Linked DNA regions of Homo sapiens: all the other regions are linked to region 2. Evidence: promoter capture Hi-C in 16 types of primary human blood cells and fetal thymus (Javierre and others, 2016). All regions are on one chromosome and are shown on one strand. The core of a region is centred on a gene start or on the middle of the fragment in contact, and the rest is flanking DNA. Distances in the headings are between cores, read along the strand shown.

Region 1 (3,882 bases), core at 1,304-3,803, 400 kb after region 2:
CTGAGGCAGAGAAAGAGACTGCCCAAAGATAATTTTTGAATAGTTTGTAGCAAGTCAGCAAGAAGGAAGGAGGGTCTGGGGAAGGAGGGACCAAGGCTGTGTTCTGAATGTTGCTAGAGGAGAAAAGGTTCTGTAAGGGACAGAGGGATGCAGTCTAGAGGGGTAGGGAGCAGGTGGGAGGCTGCTTCCCAGACTTCACTACTTGGGAGGCCCACAGACTTGGGCTATGGCAGCCGTTGTTACTATGGCTTAAGGGAGAGAAACAGAAGTGTGGATGCTTCTAACAAAGAGATAAAGAATAAATACATAAAGAGGGTAGGTATTGCATTGTTTTATTTTTACGTACCCCTAAAGAGGGGTTAGAGGCCGGGCGTGGTGGCTTATGCCTGTAATCCCAGCACTTTGGGAGGCCGAGGCGGGCGGATCACGAGGTCAGGAGATCAAGACCATCCTGGCTAACACGGGGAAACCCCGTCTCTAGTAAAAATACAAAAAATTAGCCGGGCATGGTGGCGGGTGCCTGTAGTCCCAGCTACAGGCTGAGGCAGGAGAATGGCGTGAACCCGGGAGGTGGAGCTTGCAGTGAGCCGAGATAGAGCCACTGCACTCCAGCCTGGGCGACAGAGCGAGACTCCGTCTCAAAAAAAGAGGGGTTAGAAATTTCCCTGAGGCCAGGCACCATGGCTCACGCCTGTAATGTCAGCTCTTTGGGAGGCCCAGGTGGAAGTATCATTTGAGGCCAGGAATTCGAGACCAGCCTGGGCAACATAGTAATAACCTGTCTCTACAAAAACTAAAAAATTAGCCAGGTATGGTGGTATACACCTGTGGTCCCAGCTACTAGGGAGGCAGAAGCAGGAGGATCACTTGAGGCCGGGAGTTCAAGACCACCCTGGGCAACATTGCAAGATCCCCATCTCTACCAAAAAAAAAAATTTTTTTTTAAAGAAATTTAGCCAGGCGTAGTAGTGTGTGTCTGTGGTCCCAGCTACTTGGGAGGCTGAGGCAGGAGCATGGCTTGAGCCCAGGAGTTCCAGGCTGTGGTGAGCTATGATCGCACCACTGCACTCCATCCTGGGCAACAGAGAGAGAGAGAGACCCTGTCTCTAAAAAAAAAGGCGGGGGCAGGTTGGGGGAAAGGGGAATAGTATAACATCTAGGATCTGATTTCAAATAGTCCAGCAAACTACAGCTGGCCCCCACACAATGTCATTTCATTGAATGTCATTTCATTATAACATTGATGATTTTCTAAAAATTGATTTTGGGCTGGGACCACCATCTGTGTGGAGTTTGCATGGTCTCCCCATGTCTGCATGGCATGTTTGAAAATTTTCATAATAATCCACTTTTTTTTTTTTTTTGAGACATGGTCTCACTCTGTTGCCCAGGCTGGAGTGCAGTGGCACAATCTTGGCTCACTGCATCCTCAACCTCCTGGGCTCAAGAGATCCTCCTGCCTCACAGCCTCCTGAGTAGCTGGGACTACAGGTATACATCACCACACTCAGTTTTTTTTTTTTTTTAAGATGGAGTCTCACTCTGTCACCAGGCTGGAGTGCAGTGGCGTGATCTCGACTCACTGCAACCTCCGCCTCCCAGGTTGAAGTGATTCTCCTGCCTCAGCCTCCCGAGTAGCTGGGACTACAGGTGCCCGCCACCACACCTGGCTAATTTTTGTATTTTAAGTAGAGACTTGGTTTCACCATGTTGGCCAGGATGGTCTTAATCTCTTGACCTCGTGATCCGCCCGCCTCGGCCTCCCAAAGTGCTAATTTTTTAAATTTTTTGTAGAGATGGGGATCTCGTTATATTGCCCAGGCTGGTCACGAACTCCTGGGCTCAAGCGATCCTCCCACCTTTGAGTAGCTGGAATTATAGGTGCACATCACCATGCCCAGCTATTTTTTTTTATTTTTTGTAGAGATGGGGTCTTGCTATTATATTGTCCAAACTGGTCTCAAGCGATCCTCCTTCCTCGACCTCCCAAAGTGCGGAGATTACAGGCATGAGCCACCACCGGGATCCGGCAATAATCCACTTTTAAAAATAAGGAATGGGGGGAATAATGCAGTTGCTGTGAAAACCAAAGGAGAATGACAGTAACAGCCACAGCTGCCCCACAGCAGGGACTGGGAACTTCTGGGTGGGCATGCAGCACACCTCCCGGCCTGTGCCTTCCGTCTCTTCTGTGTGTCTCTAGGCCAATGGCAGCAATTGACTACAAGTAAGGGAATCCCTCGCCTCCCTGCAAGCTCCTCCCCTTTCTCCCCGAGCCCCGCCCCCTGCAGCCCCTCCCTGCAAGAGTGGGGCTAGGGCCCGGCAGGTGTGGGGTTAAGGGAGTCTGTTTGGGGCCCCCAGGAGCAGCAGCCTAAGCAGTGGCTGCAGCAACTGCAACAGCAGCGGCTGTGGCAGGCCTGGCCCCGGGCCAGCTGGCGGGAAGCCCCAGGAGGGAGGGAGGGAGGAGGAAGGGGAGGAAGAGGGGAAGGAGGAGGAGGAGGAGGAGAGGAGCAGTCAGCAGGCCCGAGGAGGCAGGACTTCCTGGTGTGGGGGTTGTCAACAGCCCAGAAAGAGAAAGACGGAGAGGCAGAGACCCAGGGGAGCCGAGGAGCGGAGACACGGACCCAGCAGGGTCACGCGGGAGGAGACTCGGGACACCCACTCGCTGGCTGCCACCGGGAGCAGAGGGGGGCTCGGCCGCCCCCTCCCACATCAGTCTCCAGACCCTTGGGGCTTCAGAGGCCGCTCCTAGGCTCCTCGGAGGAGGCGCGGGTTTCTTCTTTTCCGGAGAGCAAACTTTCCTCGGAGATGCCTGGCAGGATGAGCCGCGGCCCCCGGAGAGGACGGGACAGCCTCTGATCGCCGCCTGCGTGCCCCGCCACTGCCCATGGCCAGGAGGCCCCAGGGAACGGACAGCCCGACCTCTTAGGCGCCGGGACCCTCAGGCTCAGATCAGTGGCCGAGGCCCCAGAGGTAGGGTTCAGGGCTGGGTGGGGCGCTGGGGGGTAGCCGGGCAGGGCCTGCCCCAGAGATGTGGGAGCTGGGGTGAGGGTGGGGGCTCGAGGCCCAGGAGAGGTCTCTCTGAGTGGCCGGGCCAGGCTGGGGAGCTGCTTCAGCCTGGTTCTCCCAGGCCCTGGAGTCCGAGCTCTTGGGACAATACGGGCCCCCTGAGTCAGAATCCCAGGCGAGAAATGCCCAACTCTGGGACTCATCTGCCTCTTTCTACTCTGAGTGCCTTCTTGGATCCAGTCCCCTCTGCCCTGGTCTCTGTCATCTCTTGCCTGTCTCTGGGTCTCTGACGGTTTCCCCTTCCCCCACTCTGCTCCCCGGAGAGGAAGCCCCGGAGGTGGCCTGCCCACTGGTTTCACACACACACACACACACACACACACACACACACACACACACACACACACTCTCTCTCTCTCTCTCTCTCTCTCTCTCCCCCTCTTTTTCCAGTTTGCAAACTCAGCTCTGGAGTTCAGCAGCAACAGCAGCAGGAAAAACCTGCCCCTGCTCCCCCCTCCCGCCACCTCCCCTCTCCTCTTCTCCCCTCACCCAGCAGGCACCCCCGGTTCCCGCCAGGCCCTCCTGCCATGTCGGACCCAGACGTCCCCAGGGGCTCGGATGTCCCCGCCATGTGGCCCCCTTGTTCCAGGGGTGCCTGAGCCCCTTCAAGGAGCCCCAACCCACCCCCAACCTTGGCCCAGCCCTGAGCCCCAGGGACCATGAGCGGGGGCAAGAAGAAGAGTAGTTTCCAAATCACCAGCGTCACCACGGACTATGAGGGCCCTGGGAGCCCAGGGGCTTCGGATCCCCCTACCCCACAGCCCCCAACCGGGCCCCCGCCCCGCCTGCCCAATGGGGAGCCCAGCCCCGATC
Region 2 (3,691 bases), core at 130-2,629:
GCAAGACGCTGTCTCTACAAAAAATAATTTTAGACCAAGCACTGGCTCATGCCTGTAATCCCAGCACTTTGGGAGGTCGAGCTGGGTGGATTACCTAAAGTCGAGAGTTCCAAACCAGCCTAGCCAACATGGTGAAACCCCGTCTCTACTAAAAATACAAAAATTAGACGGGCGTGGTGGCAGGTGCCTGTAATCCCAGCTACTCGGGAGGCTGAGGCAGGAGAATTACTTGAACCCCAGAGGCGAAGGTTGCAGTGAGCCAAGATTGCGCCATTGCACTCCAGCCTGGGCGACAGGGCAAGACTCTGTCTCGAAATAACAATAATAATTTTTAAAAGTTAGGCGGGCGTGATGGCCTCCCCCTGGAGTCCCAGCTTCTCAAGAGGCTGAGGCGGGAGGCTCGGTTGAGCCCGGGAGGTGGAGGCTGCTACGACTGCATCAATGCACTCCAGCCAGGGCAGCAGAACAAGACCCCATCTCAATAACAAAACAAAAAAAAGCAAAAAAGCACGCTTTTCGTGCATGTATAAACAGTGCTTCTTCATACTCAAACTCTTAGCTCTATAGCTCTGATCTGCAGAGAATTTCAAAAACCAAGCCACAGCTAGTTATTTGGCCAACAGCAAATAGGCTGAACCACAGAAAACGGTCCAATGAGCCATTTCATAGGATTCGCCCTCATAAAAATTACAAGGGGGAGAAAGAAAAGCGACGCGGGTGGAGTGAAACGGCATGAAACGGGGACAAGATGAAGTTAAAAACGGCTCACCTGTCATTCCAATCGTCCCCTCGACGTCTTTCATCTCTCTCGCGGGAACGGTCGTAGTCGCTGCGCTCTCTTCTGAACTTGTCCCTGCGCCTTCGATCGTACTCGTCATCACTGTCACCCATGGCACGGTCTGAGGGGGCCTGGGGACCGGGGAGAGGCGGTAGGAGTGGTGCAAAAGGACGAGCGGAGGAAGGGACCGTCCCTCGCGGGCAGCTCGCCCGCTTCCCTCCCGCCAAGGCCAGCCCTCCGCGGCCCCCACCATCCTAGGCCTGAGAACGCGGCTCCAACACCTCCACTCGCCCCGAGTTTCTCCGCGCCCGCCCCCGTGGACCCCGGTTCCTCTCCCGCCCCAGCGGGGCCCCCCAGGCTCCTCCCCTCCCCCACCTTGGTGCGGCCGCGGCCGTTGGACTCGCGCTCGGACGGGCTAGATTTCAGGGCGACCTGGGTCGCGGGCGCGCGACGAGGACTTCGAGGAGGGCGAGACGGAGACGGAGCTCTTGAGTAGAGGGCCGAAGAGAGGCGAACAAAAGTGGGACAACCGGGGATGGGCAGTAGCGCGCGCAGCCCGCGCTGCGCCTGCGTCACCCACGCCTCCGAGGCACAAAGCTCCACCCTCGCGGCCGGAACTGGAACTAACAAACCGAGCGCGAAGGGCGGGGAGAGCAGGGCGTGATGGGAAAGGGGCGGGGATCTCGCAAGTCTCGCGCGGCTTTTCGAGACGATAACGGCTCGAGCGTTAGGAACTACGGGACCTCGGCTGGGCCAAGCGCGGCCTCGGGAGGCGAACAAGCCCTCTGGGCGCGAAGGGAGAGCGGAAGTCGAGGATCGCGCGACCCCAGATGTGTCGGGGTCCTAAGACGGTTCTCATCCAGCCATGTTCCCCCCACGGGCCTCCTGACCTCACCGGGGGTGATTTCGTCCCCTCCTCGGGCAGGGCGTGGGCTTGGGAAGCGCGGGCGCTTAGGGGATGGAAGGTGGAAGCAACCATTTTAAAGCATCGTATCCCACCATTTTCTGCTCCAAATATCCAGCCAAAATTGGGTGCCACAGTGCGCACTAAATGCAAAGTCCGCCGTTCCTGCTTTTCCTCGACAAAGACGCCCCGTCTTTAAGTAAAATTGGCAGATCTCAGTCTTAACCCCGCTCAGTATTTGGATGAAATAGGCTGTAAGTTAACGCCCTAAACAGAGTATGGACCGCCCAGATTCAATGGATTACCACCCCCGGGAGTAACACCAAGGCCCCTCTCAGTGAATTGAGTGTGAGACTTAATAGGAAGACCAGCTGAGATGGCTCACGCCTGCAATCCCAGCGCTTTGGGAGGCCGACGTGGGAGAATCACTTGAGCCCAGGAGTTGGAGACCTGCCTGGGCAACATAGCAAGGCCCCTTTACAGAATATTTAGGGCCAGGCACATTGGCTCACACCTGTGATCCCAGCACTTGGGAAGGTCGAGGAGGGAGGACTTAAGCCCAAGAGTTCAGGACTAGCCTGGGCAACATAGCAAGATCCCATCTACACACAAAAAAATAATAACTGGGCTTGGTGGGATGCCCCTGTGGTCCTAGCTACTGGGGAGGCTAAGCCAGGAGGACTGTTTGAGCCCAGGAGTTCAGGGCTGCAGTGAGCCTTGATTGCACCACTGCACTCTAGCCTGGGGAACAGAGTGAGGCCCTGTCTCAAAATAGATACATAGAGGAAATCTTGCCTCCTCCCTGAGGCGTGCTTGCTCCCAGCACTGAGAGGAGGGTAGTGACGGATTACAAGAGTTGTCAAAAAAAACTGGACCTGAGTCAAAAAGACCCAGGTTCCACCATTTAAGAACCATGCAATCTGGGGGAGTCACCTCTCAGCTCTGACATCCTCACATGTAAAAATGCAGACAGTGGCCAAGGGCGGTGGCTCACGCCTGTAATCCCAGCACTTTGGTTGGGTGAAGCGGGCAGATCACTTGAGGTCAGGAGTTCAAGACCACCCTGACCAAGGTGGTGAAACCCCGTCTCTACTAAAAATACAAAATTAGCCAGACGTGGTGGCGGGCGCCTGTAATCCCAGCTACTCAAGAGGCTGAGGCAAGAGAATCACTTGAACCTGGGAGGCAGAGGTTGCAGTGAGCCGAGATGGCACCACTGCATTCCAGCCTGGGTGACAGAGCCAGACTCCGTCTCAAAAAAAAAAGAAAAAAAATGCAGGCAGTAACAATGACTGGGCCTGTAATGGGCTACTGGGAGAATCAGATGAGACAACAGACTTGGAAGTGTTTTGTAAACTCGAGGGATTATTATTTCTTGATTGGAGAAAGAGAAGACAGCATTTGGTGACAAAGTCATACAGGTGGATGTCAGGGAGAGTGATCAATCAAAGGATGGGAACTGGAACTGAGAACCCAGCAGGTACTTCTAGGAAGACTCAGCAGTCAGTGGTGACGGTGGCTGAGAGCTCCTGGATGCGCCAGGCGCTGCAGGCCTTGCACAAGATGTGCCCATCCAGCGGGTAGCAGCCCTGACACTCGCCCTCAGAGGAGAGCAGCAGCCCACACTCCTGTTGAAAAAGAAGCAACAATTGGCCGGGCGCGATGGCTCACGCCTGTAATCCCAGCACTTTGAGAAGCCGAGGCAGGAGGATCACAAGGTCAGGAGTTCAAGACCAGCCTGGCCAATATGGTGAAACCCTGTCTCTACTAAAAATACAAAAATTAGCCAGGCATGGTGGCCAGCACCTGTAATCCCAGCTACTCAGGAGGCTGAGGCAGGAGAATCACTTGAACCCGGGAGGTGGAGGTTGCAGTGAGCCAAGATTGTGCCACTGCACTCCAGCCTGGGCAACAGAGCAAGACTCCGTCTCAAAAAAAAAAAAAAAAGAAAGAAGCAACAGGTTTCCATCAACCCCAGACCTCTGTGTTCCCCCTCATGCTCTACCCAG
Region 3 (3,722 bases), core at 679-3,178, 340 kb before region 2:
CTTGCAGTGAACCGAGATTGCGCCACTGCACTCCAGCCTGGGGGACAGAGCAAGACTCCGTCTCAAAAAGAAAAAAAAAGAAAGAAAGAAAAACTAAAAGGGCCAAGCGCAGTGGCTCATACTTGTAATCCTAGCATTTTGGAAGGCCGAGGCAGGAGGATCACATGAGCTCAGGAGTTCAAGACCAGCCTGGGCAACATAGTGAGACACCCATCTCAACAAAAAATATAAAAACTAGCCCAGCATGGTGGCCTGCACCCACCTGTAGTTCCACCTACTCAGGTGGCTGAGGTGGAAGAATCACTTGAGCATGGGAGGTTGAGGCTGCAGTGAGTTATATAGAACCACTGCATTCCAGCCTGGGTGACAGAGCAAGACTCTGTCTAAAAAAAAAAAGTCTTTGCTGGCTCTCCAGTGTTTCCCTACAGAGTTCAAACTCCTGGGCAGTGTGTATAATGCCTTTCAAAATGTAACCTTTCCCCAGCCTTCGATCCTTTCTTATTACTCTGTAAGATCCAAACTGTGAACTTGGCTTCCTAAGCGACTTGCTTTTTCTTGCTTCACTGCCTTTGCACGTGAGGTTCCCACTGAGAGAAACCCTAACTAGACTTTCAAGACTCAATTCAAGCTTTTTCATTTTTCCTTCAAGCTTTCACAGTCCCCTGCCTCCCAGAACCTGGGCTAGATGCCACGTCTCCCTGTTCCCAGGCGCTGTGCTTCCCTCTGCCATAGCACAAATCACAAATCACAGTAAAATACAGTGTTAGGTCTGCGTTTCTGCCCCCCTTCCAGAAAAAGCCAATGCTTGGATAAGAGGGGTCTTTCTCCTCTTCATCCCCAGCGCCCGGCTTGGAGCAGGCACCAATAAAACGTGAATGAAGGGTCAACGCCAGGACCCGAGGGCTGAGGAAGGGATTTACGAGGAATAGCTGGGGCCGGGCGCGGCAGCTCACGCCTGTAATCCCAGCACTTTGGAAGGCCCACGCAGGAGGATCGCTTTGAGGCCAAGAGTTGGAGACCAACCTGGGCAACATAGCGAGAGCCCGTCACCACATAACAAATTAAAAATTAACCAGGCGTGGGGCCTCATGCTTGCAGTTCCAGCCACTCCGGAGGCTGAGGTGGGAGGATGGTTTGATCCCAGGAAATCGAGGCTGCAGTGAGCTATGACTATGCCACTGCACTCCAGCCTAGGCGAAAGAGCGAGACCAAAAAAGAGGAATGACTAGGTAAGAAAATTCTAGGACTGACTTGGGAAGGGGAAGGGGGCGAACCGCGGGGGCTCACATACCCGAAGTTTTCTTCTCCACCATTGGCACAACACAACTGTCGGAAGAAACTGCTGCGCACGCGTACTAACCCCAAGGCTTTAGTAGGGGCGCCATCACTTCCGGTAGCTTGTACTTCTGCGCGTGCGCCACAGCTTTGACTCATTACGTGGCGTTTCCTTGGAGACAAGAAAGCTTTTCGCCATGTTTTATAGGGGCAAAACCACTTCCGGCCTCAGTGTGGAGGTGTAAATCTTGTGGGAGCCACGAAATGGGTCATTTTAAAGATGTGGTCACGGTGTTCTTACAAGAAATCTTATTTTCCTTTGGTCCTTGTGAAGATGCTGTGATCACAAAGGCAGCCCCTGGAGCTTCTCCGGGCAGAAGAGGAGGTGGGCTGGACTGTCAAAGAAAGTGGCTGGCTTCCGTGGGCAATCCGAGGTTCCTAGTGGCCCTCTGCAGAAAGCTGAACTCCCAGTTCCCCCAGGCCTCCGTCCCGCGGCGGACTCCTAGGCTTCCTCCCTCCCTGTCGCCGCCAGCCTCTCGCTCTCCCCGTCTTCCGCCCGCACTCTCTGGGCAGGGCTGCGGCCAGGACCCGCCCCCGCGTCCCGCCCGACCCTCCGCCAGGGGTCACTTCCCCTGTCCAGGTTTCAGCTTCCACATGTGTCAAGCGGCTGGCTCAGCCCAGAGTCCCTGTCTCCCGCCCGCCGGCCCGAGCCGCCGCCCCTCCCCCGCCTCCCGTGCGCCCGGGACAATCCTCGCCTTGTCTGTGGCGCCGGCATCTGGAGCTTTCTGTAGCCTCCGGATACGCCTTTTTTTCAGGGCGTAGCCCCAGCCAAGCTGCTCCCCGCGGCGGCCGCACAGCAGCCCGAGCGCCCCCTTTCCAGAGCTCCCCTCCGGAGCTGGGATCCAGGCGCGTAGCGGAGATCCCAGGATCCTGGGTGCTGTCTGGGCCCGCTCCCCACCATGACCTCCTCGGGGCCTGGACCCCGGTTCCTGCTGCTGCTGCCGCTGCTGCTGCCCCCTGCGGCCTCAGCCTCCGACCGGCCCCGGGGCCGAGACCCGGTCAACCCAGGTGAGATCCCGGGGAGGCCCGGCACGGCCGAGGGGGCAGAGGCTGGCGTGCCTGCCAGCCTGGCCCGGAGAGGGTCGGAGGCTCGAGGAGGTGTCTGGCCCGTCCCCCGCCCAGCGTGCTCTTGAGGCTGAGTCGCGCCAAGCCCCTCGCCCATCACTACCCTGAACTGGGGTTTCCAGCCTCCCTATGCAAAGGGACTCGGAATTCCTGGGCACCACTCCCACCCTGCCCTCCTTGGGGTCAGAGTGTTCCTGGGTGAGAAGAGTTTAAGAATGGGAAGGAAGAAAGGGAGGGAAGTCGAGTGAGAGGGAGGACAGCAAAGCACGTGAGGCCCGGAGCTGGGCGGTGGATCTCAAGTGCCATTTCCCTCTGGTAACAGAGAAGCTGCTGGTGATCACTGTGGCCACAGCTGAAACCGAGGGGTACCTGCGTTTCCTGCGCTCTGCGGAGTTCTTCAACTACACTGTGCGGGTGAGGAGAGGGAAAGGCCCCTGGGAGGGGGTCCCAGCAGGAGGGGTGGGCTGAAGTCTGGATGCCCAGGTCCCCACGGTAAGCCTGGTCAGGAGTTCCCCCCACAACTCCCCACCCCTTGCCTGGCACGGGGCAATCTTCTCCACAGACCCTGGGCCTGGGAGAGGAGTGGCGAGGGGGTGATGTGGCTCGAACAGTTGGTGGAGGACAGAAGGTCCGGTGGTTAAAGAAGGAAATGGAGAAATACGCTGACCGGGAGGATATGATCATCATGTTTGTGGATAGGTAACGGGGCTGGGGATAGGGAGCGGGGTAAGGATGCTGAGGTTCCCAGTGGACCCCTGCCCATCCTCCCCTTCCTCACCCAGCTACGACGTGATTCTGGCCGGCAGCCCCACAGAGCTGCTGAAGAAGTTCGTCCAGAGTGGCAGCCGCCTGCTCTTCTCTGCAGAGAGCTTCTGCTGGCCCGAGTGGGGGCTGGCGGAGCAGTACCCTGAGGTGGGCACGGGGAAGCGCTTCCTCAATTCTGGTGGTGAGTGGCAGAGTGCCCAAGGCAGAGGGGCCAAGAGCGGTGGGACACAGAGTGTTAAAGGCGCCTGAGGGCTGGAGACAGCCTGGGGGACAGGCCCTGGGACCCTGGGAGTCTCGAGGTCAACACTCCCCCTCCCCGCCAGGATTCATCGGTTTTGCCACCACCATCCACCAAATCGTGCGCCAGTGGAAGTACAAGGATGATGACGACGACCAGCTGTTCTACACACGGCTCTACCTGGACCCAGGACTGAGGGTAGGGAAGGCAGAGGAGTGGGCGCATCCCGCAGCTCTGTGGGAGTGGAGGCCTCAGGCTGAATGGGATTTGGGGAGCAAAGGGGGTTGCAAAGAGAAAAATGTGTGCCTGGGCGTGGTGG
Region 4 (3,577 bases), core at 518-3,017, 310 kb before region 2:
GAGAGGGTAGGGGGAGCATGAGAGCTGGGCGGCCCCTGGAGAGAGGACTCCAGCAGACCTTGAAAGGCCTTAACATTATTCCCTGCATCGGCCGGGCACGGTGGCCCACGCCTGTAATCCCAGCACTTTGGGAGGCCGAGGCGGGCGGATCACGAGGTCAGGAGATCGAGACCATCCTGGCTAACACGGTGAAACCCCGTCTCTACTAAAAATACAAAAAATTAGCCGGGGGTGGTGGCGGGCGTCTGTAGTCCCAGTTACTGGGGAGGCTGAGGCAGGAGAATGGCATGAACCCGGGAGGCAGAGCTTGCAGTGAGCCGAGATCGCGCCACTGCACTCCAGCCTAGGCGAGAGTGAGACTCCTCTCAAAAAAAAAAAAAAAAAATTATTCCCTGCATCTCCAAAGCAGTTTACAGTTGCTAAAGGGCTTTGTCCATCACTTTCCTGGCTCCTTACAGGGTAGAACTGAAGGTGTTCTGATCTCACTTTATTTATTATTTTATTTTATTTTGAGTTGGATTCTCGCTCTGCCGCGCAGGCTGGAGTGCAGTGGCACGATCTCGGCGCATTGCAATCTCTGCCTCCCGGGTTCAAGCGATTCTCCTGCCTCAGCCTCCCAAGTAGCTGAGATTACAGGTGCAGGCCACTGTGCCCGGCTGATTTTTGTATTTTTAGTAGAAACGGGGTTTCGCCATGTTGGCCATGCTGGTCTTGAACTCCTGACCTCAGGTGATCCTCCCACCTCGGCCTCCCAGAGTGCTGGGATTACAGGCATGAGCCACCGTGCCCGGCCAGGCCAGGCTAATTGTTGTATTTTTAGTAGAGACGGGGTTTCACCATGTTGGCCAGGCTGGTCTCGAACTCCTGACCTCAAGTGATTCCCCCGCCTCGGCCTCCCAAAGTGCTGGGATCACAGGCTTGAGCCACCGCACCCAGTCTTGAGCTCACTTTATAGGTGGGATGGAGAACCTTGTAGGAGTTAAGAGCCTGGGCCACCGCCTTATTAGAGCAGGGGCAGCGCTGCACCCACCCGGGTCCCAGCTCCACACTTCCCTCTTCCTCCCCAGCCACCAGGATCAGCGTGGGGTGCAGCGCCTCCTGAGTGCAGAGGTCTGTGTGAATGTGCCTGGGTGTGCGCTGTGTACCTGGAGGTCTTTCTGCCTGCTGTCCCGTGGGGTACATTGTGGATTTAGGGGCCTTGTGCACCCGGGGAACCAGGGTGCTCAGGCACCCACGCAGTGGTGAGAAGATGGAGAGATCTTGGCCTCCCTCTGCCCTTTTCAGCCTTTCAACTTCTGTCTCTTGATGTCTCTTCGCCTTCCCGGTGTTCTAGGGTTTCTGATTCCCTCTATCAGTTTCCGGGGACGAAGGCTCGGAGTCCCCTTCCCAGCCGCTCTTATAATGGAGAGAGGAGATTCCATTGAGGGGTGGCTCCTGGAGGAGGGGTACTTCAGGGCAGTGGGGGACCCCCGGACAGAGAACGGAGGTGCTGGGCGTGGGGTGGGGAGATAACTAAGCCAGCAACACCAGCATCACCACCACCAAAACCCGAGACACCACCATCCTCAGTCCCACTCCCCAGCCGGGACACAGGGCGGAGTCTCGCCAGTAGGGCTTGAGGCCACCCAGCTGCCCAGGGCGCACCCCGACCCCCGGCCCCGCCAGCAGGGCACGAGTCCGCTCCGGATCCGTCCCGGGTTTCTTCCGCGTCGCCGGGGTCTCCGCCCCTCGAAGCTGCCGCCGGAGCGTCGCCGGGGGAGCCACGCGTGCCACCCGAACCCCTGAACCGATGGGCGCCCCGGCCCGCGTCGCCAACGGAGCTGCGGCGCTGCCCCAGCGCTGACCGACGTTAGAGTCGGGCTCCGACAGCGCGGCCGAGTCCCCGCGCGTCATCCTCCTTTGACTCTTGGGGGCTCCAAAGGGACCTCTCTCTTGGCACCGGGGGTGTCTGCGCCCGCCGCCCGCCCCGCTTGGCTTTGCGGCATCTCGGCCCTGGCTCCAGCTCCGGCTCCGGCGAGGTAGGGGGGCGGCCGGGCCTGGGGACTGGGGAGGGGGCTAGCGTGCTCCTCCACCGCAGAATGGGGCAGCAGAAGGCCACCGCCCCTCAGGGGGACCAAGCGGCTGCGCCCCCTTCTGCCCAGCCCCTCCCAGTCCGAAGACCCAGAAAACTGAGTCAGAGGCTGCGCTTCAGGTGTCCAGAAGCGCTCCCCCGCCCCCCTCTGTTGCCATGTCGCTCCCACCTGTCCCCAGGGTCCGGCGCCCAGGGGAACCCCCGCCAAGCAGATCGCTCCCTTTGCAATCTCCCTCTCCCCCAAGCCCAAGCCCCCAATCCGGGGTAGAGGCAGAGGGAAGACCCTCACTCGGGAAGACCCTGCAGGACAGCCCCCCCTTCTCCACTACTGTGGCCCTCTGGGGCCCTCCCCCCACCCCCTTTGGCTGGGCCATCTTCCTCGGCCCCTGCCTCTGCCCACCCCCTAGGCCTTCTCTCCCGCCCCCACTTCATCGCCTCTCCCCGTCTCTGTTTCCAAGGTTGTTCTCTTACGGCCTTTTTTCTGACTTTCTTTTCCCCTTGACCCCTTCCCCTCCACGGATCCCCGCCCCCCATACCCCGGGGCGAAGGGGGTGTGTCACGCTGCTTTCTATTTACAGTGTCCCAGGGGAGGGGGTGCGTGCTAGGATTTTTTTTTTTTCATCTGCTGGGCCCAGAGTCACGAGGTGTCATGTCTGTGATTCGGTGTCGAAGCCTCCTCCGGCTTCCCTGCCTGTCCCCTGCGGCCGCATCTCCTGTCCGCTTTTGTCTGCTCTCTGCCTCCATTCCCGTCCTTTTCGCTCTCATCTTTGGGCGCTTTGTGCAGCTGCCTTCTTTGTCTCCGCCTCTCCGGCGACTGGGCTCTCCCTTCCCTCCCTCTCCTCCCTCCCCCAGTGTCAAGAAGCCATCGGCCTCAAGGGCATCGATATTTCAGGTGTGTGGGGTGTGGTGGGAGTGGGGTGCGGGTGGGTGGGCTGCCGGCATTCCCAGCTCTGACTCCGATCATGCCCAGCTATGACTCTGATCACCCCCTCCCCAAAGAGATCATTCATATTTATGAGATTTAAAGAATGTCCCCAAGGATGTGGGGATAGACATGAAGAGAGAAATGTTATTCCTCTTTTTTTTTTTTTTTTTTTTTGACAGCGTTTCACTCTTGTTGCCCAGGCTGGAGTGCAATAGCGTGATCTCGGCTCACCACAATCTCGGCCTCCCGGGTTGAAGCGATTCTCCTGCCTCAGCCTCCTGAGTAGCTGGGATTACAGGAATGCGCCAGCACGCCCGGCTACTTTTGTATTTTTTTTTTTTTTTTTTTTTTTTAGTAGAGAGAGGGTTTCTCCATGTTGGTCAGGCTGGTCTCCAACTCCTGACCTCAGATGATCCGCCTCCCTTGGCTTCCCAAAGTGGTGGGATTATAGGCATGAGCCACCACGCCCGGCCAAGAAATGCTGTCCCTCTTTTAGGAGGGCGCTTGGTCCAGGAGATACCTGGACTACATTTCTGACAGTGCCCTGGACTCACCAGCTGCCTCCGCCTCTGCCTAGACAT

What was found. The method cuts DNA at HindIII sites, captures the fragments that hold promoters and counts their contacts. A CHiCAGO score of 5 or more calls a contact.
Region 1: a contact is called between the fragment with the promoter of TSC22D4 here and the fragment with the promoter of SRRT in region 2, in 1 of 17 cell types (total B cells). The highest score is 5.5, in total B cells.
Region 3: a contact is called between the fragment with the promoter of PLOD3 here and the fragment with the promoter of SRRT in region 2, in 3 of 17 cell types (M0 macrophages, activated CD4 T cells and total CD4 T cells). The highest score is 7.8, in M0 macrophages.
Region 4: a contact is called between the fragment with the promoter of NAT16 here and the fragment with the promoter of SRRT in region 2, in 3 of 17 cell types (M0 macrophages, neutrophils and naive CD4 T cells). The highest score is 6.5, in M0 macrophages.

What each region holds. Positions count from the first base shown.
Region 1 is chr7:100,477,885-100,481,766 of GRCh38, reverse strand. It overlaps TSC22D4 (TSC22 domain family member 4), which reads left to right and starts at 2,553. Exons shown (of 5, transcript NM_030935.5): 1 at 2,553-2,973; 2 at 3,460-3,882. The coding sequence starts at 3,729. It overlaps TSC22D4-C7ORF61 (TSC22D4-C7orf61 readthrough), which reads left to right and starts at 2,553. Exons shown (of 6, transcript NM_001395846.1): 1 at 2,553-2,973; 2 at 3,460-3,882. The coding sequence starts at 3,729. RefSeq lists enhancers at 2,038-2,147, 2,848-2,917 and a silencer at 2,238-2,397. The HindIII fragment of the contact is 34,188 bases long and covers 1-3,882 here.
Region 2 is chr7:100,872,791-100,876,481 of GRCh38, reverse strand. It overlaps SRRT (serrate, RNA effector molecule), which reads right to left and starts at 1,379. Exons shown (of 20, transcript NM_015908.6): 1 at 1,154-1,379; 2 at 770-909. The coding sequence starts at 891. TRIP6 (thyroid hormone receptor interactor 6) reads right to left here. Exons shown (of 9, transcript NM_003302.3): 9 at 3,028-3,310. The coding sequence ends at 3,179. RefSeq lists a silencer at 898-1,127 and enhancers at 1,268-1,327, 1,538-1,587, 1,164-1,829, 1,830-2,494. The HindIII fragment of the contact is 10,507 bases long and covers 1-3,691 here.
Region 3 is chr7:101,215,787-101,219,508 of GRCh38, reverse strand. PLOD3 (procollagen-lysine,2-oxoglutarate 5-dioxygenase 3) reads left to right here and starts at 1,928. Exons shown (of 19, transcript NM_001084.5): 1 at 1,928-2,343; 2 at 2,723-2,814; 3 at 2,963-3,099; 4 at 3,183-3,346; 5 at 3,489-3,601. The coding sequence starts at 2,235. It overlaps ZNHIT1 (zinc finger HIT-type containing 1), which reads right to left and starts at 1,344. Exons shown (of 5, transcript NM_006349.3): 1 at 1,292-1,344. The coding sequence starts at 1,313. RefSeq lists enhancers at 997-1,538, 1,632-1,751, 2,300-2,822 and silencers at 1,852-2,131, 2,272-2,321, 2,382-2,501. The HindIII fragment of the contact is 13,473 bases long and covers 1,466-3,722 here.
Region 4 is chr7:101,178,483-101,182,059 of GRCh38, reverse strand. It overlaps NAT16 (N-acetyltransferase 16 (putative)), which reads left to right and starts at 1,767. Exons shown (of 4, transcript NM_198571.3): 1 at 1,767-2,018. RefSeq lists a silencer at 1,598-1,892 and an enhancer at 1,264-1,986. The HindIII fragment of the contact is 7,974 bases long and covers 1-3,577 here.